Linked DNA regions of Homo sapiens: all the other regions are linked to region 1. Evidence: promoter capture Hi-C in 16 types of primary human blood cells and fetal thymus (Javierre and others, 2016). All regions are on one chromosome and are shown on one strand. The core of a region is centred on a gene start or on the middle of the fragment in contact, and the rest is flanking DNA. Distances in the headings are between cores, read along the strand shown. Region 1 holds the start of PLEKHG3 (pleckstrin homology and RhoGEF domain containing G3). Region 2 overlaps LOC105370534 (a long non-coding RNA gene). Region 3 overlaps CHURC1-FNTB (CHURC1-FNTB readthrough).

What was found. The method cuts DNA at HindIII sites, captures the fragments that hold promoters and counts their contacts. A CHiCAGO score of 5 or more calls a contact.
Region 2: a fragment that was not itself captured here is called in contact with the fragment with the promoter of PLEKHG3 in region 1 in 1 of 17 cell types (endothelial precursors); the score reaches 6.8 in endothelial precursors.
Region 3: a contact is called between a fragment that was not itself captured here and the fragment with the promoter of PLEKHG3 in region 1, in 1 of 17 cell types (erythroblasts). The highest score is 5.1, in erythroblasts.

Annotation. Positions count from the first base shown.
Region 1 is chr14:64,702,979-64,705,678 of GRCh38, reverse strand. PLEKHG3 (pleckstrin homology and RhoGEF domain containing G3) reads right to left here and starts at 1,255. Exons shown (of 17, transcript NM_001308147.2): 1 at 975-1,255. RefSeq lists an enhancer at 2,475-2,700. The HindIII fragment of the contact is 3,721 bases long and covers 341-2,700 here.
Region 2 is chr14:64,888,357-64,891,270 of GRCh38, reverse strand. The region is part of intron 1 of LOC105370534 (a long non-coding RNA gene); the gene reads left to right. Among named protein-coding and RNA genes, the nearest start is that of SPTB, 9.9 kb to the right of the region's middle. The HindIII fragment of the contact is 1,223 bases long and covers 971-2,193 here.
Region 3 is chr14:64,938,334-64,941,063 of GRCh38, reverse strand. The region is part of intron 3 of CHURC1-FNTB (CHURC1-FNTB readthrough); the gene reads right to left. GPX2 (glutathione peroxidase 2) reads left to right here. Exons shown (of 2, transcript NM_002083.4): 2 at 1,226-1,906. The coding sequence ends at 1,576. Among named protein-coding and RNA genes, the nearest start is that of GPX2, 3.0 kb to the left of the region's middle. The HindIII fragment of the contact is 1,432 bases long and covers 564-1,995 here.

The DNA of each region.
Region 1 (2,700 bases), core at 6-2,505:
TGCTTATTATTTCTTGAGCAAGGGCCATGTGACTGGGCTGCGTGCAGAGGCACGGCTGGGGAGACTCTGGGAACCCCCACTCCAGGGTTCCCCGTAAGGTGAACGCAGTGTGGGTCTCCTGCTGGGGCCCCCAGAGCAGGGGACAGGCACCTACATATGCCAACAGATTAGCGAGTGACCTCGAGGATCAAACTCTTTCGCGGCCTCTAACAACACCCTCCCCAAAAGCCACACCTCTCCAGCCTCCAACCATTCCATTCTCCCCTCCGTTCTTCCTTTTGTGTTCCAAAGGCGCCCCGAAGAGTCAAAGTAGCTATTTAACGCCTTAAAAATTTAAGCTTGCACGCCTTATACTGGCTTTCCAAACCAAAGGGCTGGGTGTAGGGGTGCGAAGAACCAAACCGACTTCAGGAGTGGACGAGGTCGAGGCAGCTGGTGGCCGGGCTTTCCGCTCCCCGCTTCTGGCCCCCACTCTCCTCCCTGCCGGACAGGTAGCCGAGATTCCCAACAGCGAGCACCGTGCGGCGCCAACCCGGAACAGGCTGCAGGCGCCTCCGGGGCTGGCAGGAGCCGAGGCTCGGGTCCTCGCGCAGAAGGGTCCACCCGCCAGGCCCACAGCTCCAGCCAAACACCAGCCCTCGGGCGCGCGCGGCCTCGCGGGCTTCCTGGATTTCAAACTGAGCCTCTCTGGAGCCGCCCGGCGCATTTGCCCCTTTTGTTTCCGGAGTGGAGGGAAAAAAAGACAGAAAAAGTCTCCCCATACGACCCTCCTGCGCTCGCGCACTCTGCGGCAGGGTGGCCCGGGAAGCAGCCAACACAGTTCCAGGCCCTCCTCGGTCGCCCCGGTCCTCACCCCGCAGGGGGCTGGCACGGGGGCCGCGAAGGGACTGGGGCCCCAGCGTGACTGCCGGCACCGCCGCTCAGCCTAATGCAGGGAGATAAGAGGGGAGAGAGGAGAATCAGGGGACACTCACCGAGCGGTAGCTGCCCCGCGGGCTCGGGACGCGCACGGCGTGCGGGGCTGCCCAGGTGCTGCCGCGACGCGGGCGCGAGTTTGAAAGTCGCTCTCTGAAGGGGCTGAGGCCGCCGACCGCTCCCGCCCACCGCCAGCCCCTCAGCTGGCCCGGACTCGGCCAGCTGCAAGCGCGGCCCCCGGAGACCCCAGGCAGCGCGCGGCTTGCCAGCGCCCGGCAGGAAGTCGAGCGGAGCCGGAGCTGCAGCGGGAGGGCAGGAGGGAGCGAGGGAGCGAGGGAGCGAGGGAGCGAGGGAGCGAGGGAGCGAGGGAGCGAGGGAGGGGCGGGCCAGGAATTTTTCCTGTGGGTGGAGACTCCAGCTCGCGGCTGCAGTCCAGCAATTGGCGGCTCTGCGGGGGCCGGGGCAACCTTCGCGGCGCGGCGAGCCAGAGCCGGGGTAAGGCTGCGGCGGCGGCGAGGCCTGGGCGCGGTTAACGATTAACGCCCGCAGGGTGATGAGCGCGCACCCCCGGGCAGCCTAGATGCTCTAGGATACCAAGACGCACGTGGTGGGGTCACCCTGGTGTCACAGACCTGCTATCACCGCCTCCCGAGACAGCATGGACTGCCAGAACGTACCCCTTGTATGGACAGGGAACACCGGGCCCTGCGAAGGGGGCTGAGGGCTTTCCCAAGTGAGTGACCAGCCGGGATCGATCTGGGGATCCTAATCCTACCAGAGCCGGCCGTGTCCGCTTTTCCAAGTCAGAAAGGCATGTCTTGAATTCCTCACCATAACTCGGTCCCTGTGACGCTTTACAGTGGTAAATGCAGACCTCTGAGAAGCTGACGGGAAAGAGATAAAGGAGACAACGTGAAGGCAACTCCACAAGGAACTGTTAAATAGGAAAAATAAAACACAGAAACCTGGATGATAGAGGACCCGTTTTTATAAAACAAAGAGAACCGTTTGTCTTTATGTCTCTGTATATGACCGTGTATGCATGGAAAGGTACACACCTGGAAACTGGGGGGCAAGGGGTGAGGATGGGGGACAGAGACATTCAATACATTTTGAGCAAGAGCATAAATCCAAAAACCCATAATAATTCATCAGTAAAGATCCTGAAGAACAACAAGCCCGGAGGAGGGAAGCCCAGAGTGGGGCTCCGGAAGAGGAACAACGCCCACTGGTTAGGCGCTATCACTAGTTCCTTGGGAGGAGGAATAGGACGCTGATATTAGAACCACGGGGTATATTTGTTATCCAGGTGTACAGCAAACGATTTCTAGAGGTATCATTTAAAACAAAACAAGCGCCCGCCCCAAAATGCTGCTCTGGGCAAATGCAAGCTCCAGGTGATCTACTGGGAGGGGAGAGGCGGGGCAGGCGCGGAAGGAAATGGCTTTCAGGTGACTTTGAAACTGGATCCTGGCGGAGGGTGGGGTGAAGGCAGCGTCCCGGCTCCTGCCTGCGGAGGAAGCGGTAGGCGCTCGGTCTGGCAGGCCCAGAAAGCGGGGCCCACATTCCTTAGGGAGGGAGGGTGTGTTGGAGGCTTGCAGAGCCCCAGACTCGCGGACCGTGAAGGTGAGAGCAGAGATTGCAGAAGAGGGGCTCGGAAATAGATCAACTTAGTTGGGGCTCCGCTAGACCCCGCCGGCCAGGGGAGAAGTGACAAGTCCCCCTTCTGGCCTTCCAGGACTTGTGGTCACCCCTTCCAACCTCAGGCTTTCACCTTTTTTTGTT
Region 2 (2,914 bases), core at 333-2,832, 190 kb before region 1:
TCTGGTCATGGTCCTTGCATGCCTCCAGCACTTCCAGTAGGCAGAGACCAGTTGACTTCCTGAGCTGCTCTGAGTCTAAACCTCAGAAATTCTCTTCCTTGTGAGCATAGCTTCTCTATTCTCATAGCTTCTCTATTCTCTATTTTCATAGCTTCTCTATGCACTCGCTAACTCCTTAGTTAACCTCTATAGCCATTGATTCCCAAATTGAGTCAAGGAATTTGAGTATGAAAGGTATGATACAAATGGCAAAAAGCAAATAATATACTACTAACAATCATTTAAGTCAGCAACAGGAAGATTCCTCAAGTAGAGAAGTTTAGATCCCGTTTGGACACTCAGATCGCCCATCCCACATAGAGATCCAGATCCCCATACTGGGTGTTGCAACTACGCCACACACTTTTTGACTGATAACAACCACAGTAGTGACCTGTCTTTATGATTTCCCACAAGATTTTTTTTTTCTACCAATTTTCAACTTCAAAACTTATTCACTATTTTGCTTTTTTTTTTTTTTTTGAGCTAGAGTCTCACTCCTTCGCCCAGGCTGGAGTGCAGTGGCACGATCTCGGCTTACTGCAACCTCTGCATCCTGGGTTCAAGTGATTCTCCCACCTCAGCCAGGATTATAGGCACACACCACCACGTATTTTATTTTGTATTTTTAGTAGAGATGTAGAGACAGGGTTTCACCATGTTGGCCAGGCTGGTCTTGAACTCCTGACCTCAAGTGATCTACCACCTTGGCTTCCTGAAGTGCTAGGATTACAGGTGTGAGCCACTGCACCCAGGCCACCATTTTGCATGTAAGAAGCTTATTCTCAGCTGTGTGCAGTGCCTCACACCTGTAGTCCTAGCTGCTTGGGAGGTTGAGATGGCAGGATTCCTTGAGCTCAAGAGTTTGAAACCAGCCTGGGTAACATAACAAGACTCTGTCTCTCAAGAAAAGAAAAGAAAAAAAAAAGCTTATTCTTCTTCTTTTGCTGACTTATCTTGTATGAATTCCCACTTGATAGTTAACCTATCTTATAATTTGTTCTGCATTTTTTGATGTTTATTTGAGTAATAAATATAGTTATCAAGGTTAATTAGGCAACCTTAGGAAACTCAAATAATTAAAGCACAATAGTAAAGAAAACAAAGTTATAAGATCAATCCTGTCATAAAATGGTTAGGGTTTGCTATGGTTTGAATGTGTTCCCCAAAGTTCATGTGTTGGAGACTTAATCCCCAATGCAGCAGTGTTGACAGGTGGTTTTTTTTTTTTTTTTTTTCGAGACAGAGTCTTACTCTGTTGCCCAGGTGGGAGTGCAGTGGTGTGATCTCGGCTTGCTGCAGCCTCGGCCTCCCAGGCTCAGGTGATCCTCCCACCCCAGCCTCCTGAGTAGCTGGGACTACAGGCATGTACAACCATGCCCAGCTAATTTTTAATTTTTTTTTGTAGAGACTGGGTTTTGCCATGTTCTCAAGGCTGGTTTTGAATTCCTGAGCTCAAACAATCCGTCCAGACAGGTGGGATCTTGAGGGAGTTATTAGGTCATGAGGGCTCTGCCCCCATAAATGCATTCATGTTATTATCTTAGGAGGGCATTCATTATCAGGAGAGTGGGTTTGATAAGAACAGCACCTTTTGCCCTCACGTTTGTTCGCTCTCTTGCCCTTCCACCTTTCCACCACGAGATGATGCAGCAAGAAGGCCTTCGCCACATGTTGGTGCCATAATCTTGGACTTCCCAGCCTCCAGAACCATGAGCCAAATAAATTCTGTTTATTATAAATTACCCAATCCATAGTATTCTGTTATAGCAGCATAAAACGAAGTAAGGATTGTTTCTTTCCATAGCCTCAGGTTGGTCTAATGGCCAGTGTGATGACTCGACAGGTCTTCCCATTGCTCATGGGGTGGACTGGTAAGGGGCTGAGCATGAGTCAGGCAACTCCATCTTCCACACTGGCGATGGGATCCCTGAATGAGCAAAACAGATCAGCTGTGCTGGTTTTGATTAGATCCCTGAATGAGCAAAACAGATCAGCTGTGCCGGTTTTGTATAAAAAGAATAGTTTTTTTTTTCTAACCTTTGGGGCACGGTTATTTCATTATCTGAGTTATTGATGAGAATATTCAGACCTTGTTTTCCTTTAGTTCACTGCTGTTTTGTTCTTGTTCTCACCATCCTCTCTATCAAAGCTTGTTCGCAGGTAAGGATCTCATATCTGCTATTTATATTTAACTATATTTTCCCCCACATTGAAAACAACTTTATTATTTATTATAAAATATTCTATGCTTATGAAATACCCAAACCTTATAGCAAAATAGAGAAGGAAGTAAGAATTACTCTAAATCTCACCATCTAGAAATCACTTAGATTTTTTGGAGTATCTTTCCTGATATGAAATGTCTTATTTCTTAATCAAATAGAAATTATTTAGAGCCTACTTAAAAAAAATCAACAGTATGCCATGACATCTTTCCCTATCAGTAAGCATAAAACCACATCACTTAAATGACTACATAGAATTTATGTGTGTGTGTGTGTGTGCATGCGTTCACACCATAATTGGTTTAACCAATCCCATTTTGATGAACATTGAAGTGATTTCCAATTTTTCATTATTATAATGAACATCTACTATGTTCTTAGCATAAGTGTAAAACATAGAAAGCTAAAGCTAAAAGAATCCTTAGAGACTAGCTAGTTCAATGCCATCATTTCGCAGAAGAGAAGCTGAGATATAGAGAGGTTAAGAGGAAGTAGAATCCAGGTATTTTGCCTTTACATCTAGTGATCTTTCTGGTTTACCCTGCTACTATCTTAAAAAAAAAATTCTTGGCTCTTAAAATGTCACTAAGTGGAACTGACTTTTTTTTCTTATGCCAATAGCCAAAAGATCCTACCTTAAAAGCTAA
Region 3 (2,730 bases), core at 30-2,529, 240 kb before region 1:
AACAGAGAAGTCCACTAGAGATCAGCTCTGGGCTCATGATGTCATGATGGCCTGGAACTGACTGAACTAGTTAGTTCTCACAGGTCAGAAGCAGGAACTTTCTCCCAGAGGAAGGTATCTGTCTGTTAAATTGGAAAGGTAGAGGTGGAAAAGAAGGGTTCCCATAGGCCTTTTGGATTGTCATGAATGGTGATGCTGAGAGGGAATAGGACAGGGATGGCAGTGGGGAGGGAAAGGCAGGGACCAGGTTTTGAGCCAAAGCATGCGTAGCTGAGAGCAGTGAGTGGATAGGAGGTGCAGCAGTCTTTGGGTAGCAGCCTACTCAAGAAAAGAATGATAATTACATACTCACAATCTTTAGCCATCAAGCACTTATTTCCTCAACTCCCCCTCCCCCTGGCCTATTGCCAAACCCTAAATCCTGTATCCTATTTACTTCATGCCTGTTGGTTACTAAGTAGTTCCATTTAGAGTACACATTCATTGTTGCCTTGAACTTGCTCTGCTGTTATGGCACCTGAAAACTAGATGTTCTTGGATGGGGGTCTTCCTTCATCAAAGCTTCTTCCCATTTGTACTTCAGTTCTAGGACAAGGCAAGAAGAAAGCAAGAAGCTGTAAATCCCATTCCTCTGGGTCTCAATTTCACCCTCAGTTCAAGGAGCTGAGTAGGCAGAGGCAAAGGCTATACTCAACACACGTGCAATTGAAAGCAGGCGAGGCAAAACCAGGGCAGAGGAAAGGAAAGGGGTGTGTGTGTAGGTATGGATTTATGGGTAGGTGGGTCGGTAGGTTAGTTGAAGAGGAGGTTCTAAGCAGTATAACCTAAGCCTCTTTTCTCTTTCTTCTGCTTCAAACACCTTAAGAACTGCTCAGGGTAGACTGGAGACAAAAGCAACAGCTCAGAAGTGCTAAATCTTGAAGAGCAGCCAAAGCATGGGCAACAAAGTGAGACCCCATCTCTACAAAAAAAAAAAAAAATTAGCCGGGCATGGTGGCCTGTGTCTGTAGTCTCAGCTACTAAAGAGGCTGAAGCAGGAGGAATGCTTGAGCCCAGAAGTTCAAGGCTGCAGTGAGCAACACCTCGTCTGTCTTGTCTCTCTCTCTTTCACAGTGAAAAAGAATGACCCTGGGGAGGGAGTGTAGGAGGGTGAAAGAGTTTCATGTTGTGGATCTTTCTCTTCCCCCACCCACTGTCCACGCACTTTGTCTTTTTCCTCCCCTAGGAGAACTGTCAGAATGAGGAGATCCTGAACAGTCTCAAGTATGTCCGTCCTGGGGGTGGATACCAGCCCACCTTCACCCTTGTCCAAAAATGTGAGGTGAATGGGCAGAACGAGCATCCTGTCTTCGCCTACCTGAAGGACAAGCTCCCCTACCCTTATGATGACCCATTTTCCCTCATGACCGATCCCAAGCTCATCATTTGGAGCCCTGTGCGCCGCTCAGATGTGGCCTGGAACTTTGAGAAGTTCCTCATAGGGCCGGAGGGAGAGCCCTTCCGACGCTACAGCCGCACCTTCCCAACCATCAACATTGAGCCTGACATCAAGCGCCTCCTTAAAGTTGCCATATAGATGTGAACTGCTCAACACACAGATCTCCTACTCCATCCAGTCCTGAGGAGCCTTAGGATGCAGCATGCCTTCAGGAGACACTGCTGGACCTCAGCATTCCCTTGATATCAGTCCCCTTCACTGCAGAGCCTTGCCTTTCCCCTCTGCCTGTTTCCTTTTCCTCTCCCAACCCTCTGGTTGGTGATTCAACTTGGGCTCCAAGACTTGGGTAAGCTCTGGGCCTTCACAGAATGATGGCACCTTCCTAAACCCTCATGGGTGGTGTCTGAGAGGCGTGAAGGGCCTGGAGCCACTCTGCTAGAAGAGACCAATAAAGGGCAGGTGTGGAAACGGCCAGCCTGTGTGTGTGTTCTTTGACAGAGGGCGGAGGGAAGCTACAAACTGCAGGTGGGATAGAGGAGCTGCTAGCACACAAAGCTTTGGGAGGGGAGGATCTGACGGATCAAGGGATGCCCTAATTACTGACAGGAAAGCAAGCGCTGGCCAAGGTCTGCAGTGGCAGGTGCAGTTACGGGAAATGTGAATTATATTATTCCTTTACAGCTCTTCTTCAGAACTGGGGAAAAAGAGAAAGTGATAATGGGAGGTAGAGGAGGAAAAGACAATGAGCCCTTTGGTTGGGGATATTGGGAGGCTGTTAGGAGGATTACAGTCAGGAAGCATCAATAGCACTGTGGGTACTGGGCCAACTAGATCTGACTTGTGCCTTGGGAAATTCCTGGGCAGTCAGCTTAGTTAATGTTTACCAATAGCAAGGGCATAGAGGGTGTAGTTACTGAGAACACAAACAGCACTTTATCTTTTTCCTGATCATCAAACATCTCGGGTGTTTGATCCTTTGCTAGACTGATTCTCCCTCCTTTTTAAAGTTCATGGCCCGGGTGTGGTGGCTCACACCTATAATCCCAGCACTTTGAGAGGCCGAGACAGGCGGATCACTTGAGGTCAGGAGTTCGAGACCAGCCTGGCCAACATGATGAAACTCTGTCTGTACTAAAAATACAAAAAATTAGCCAGGTGTGGTGGCGCACGCCTGTAATCCCAGCTACTCAGGAGGCTGAGGTGAGAGACTCATTTGAACCCGGGAGGTGGAGGCTGCAGTGAGCCAAGATGGCGGCGCCACTACACTCCAGCCTGGGCGACAGAGTGAGACT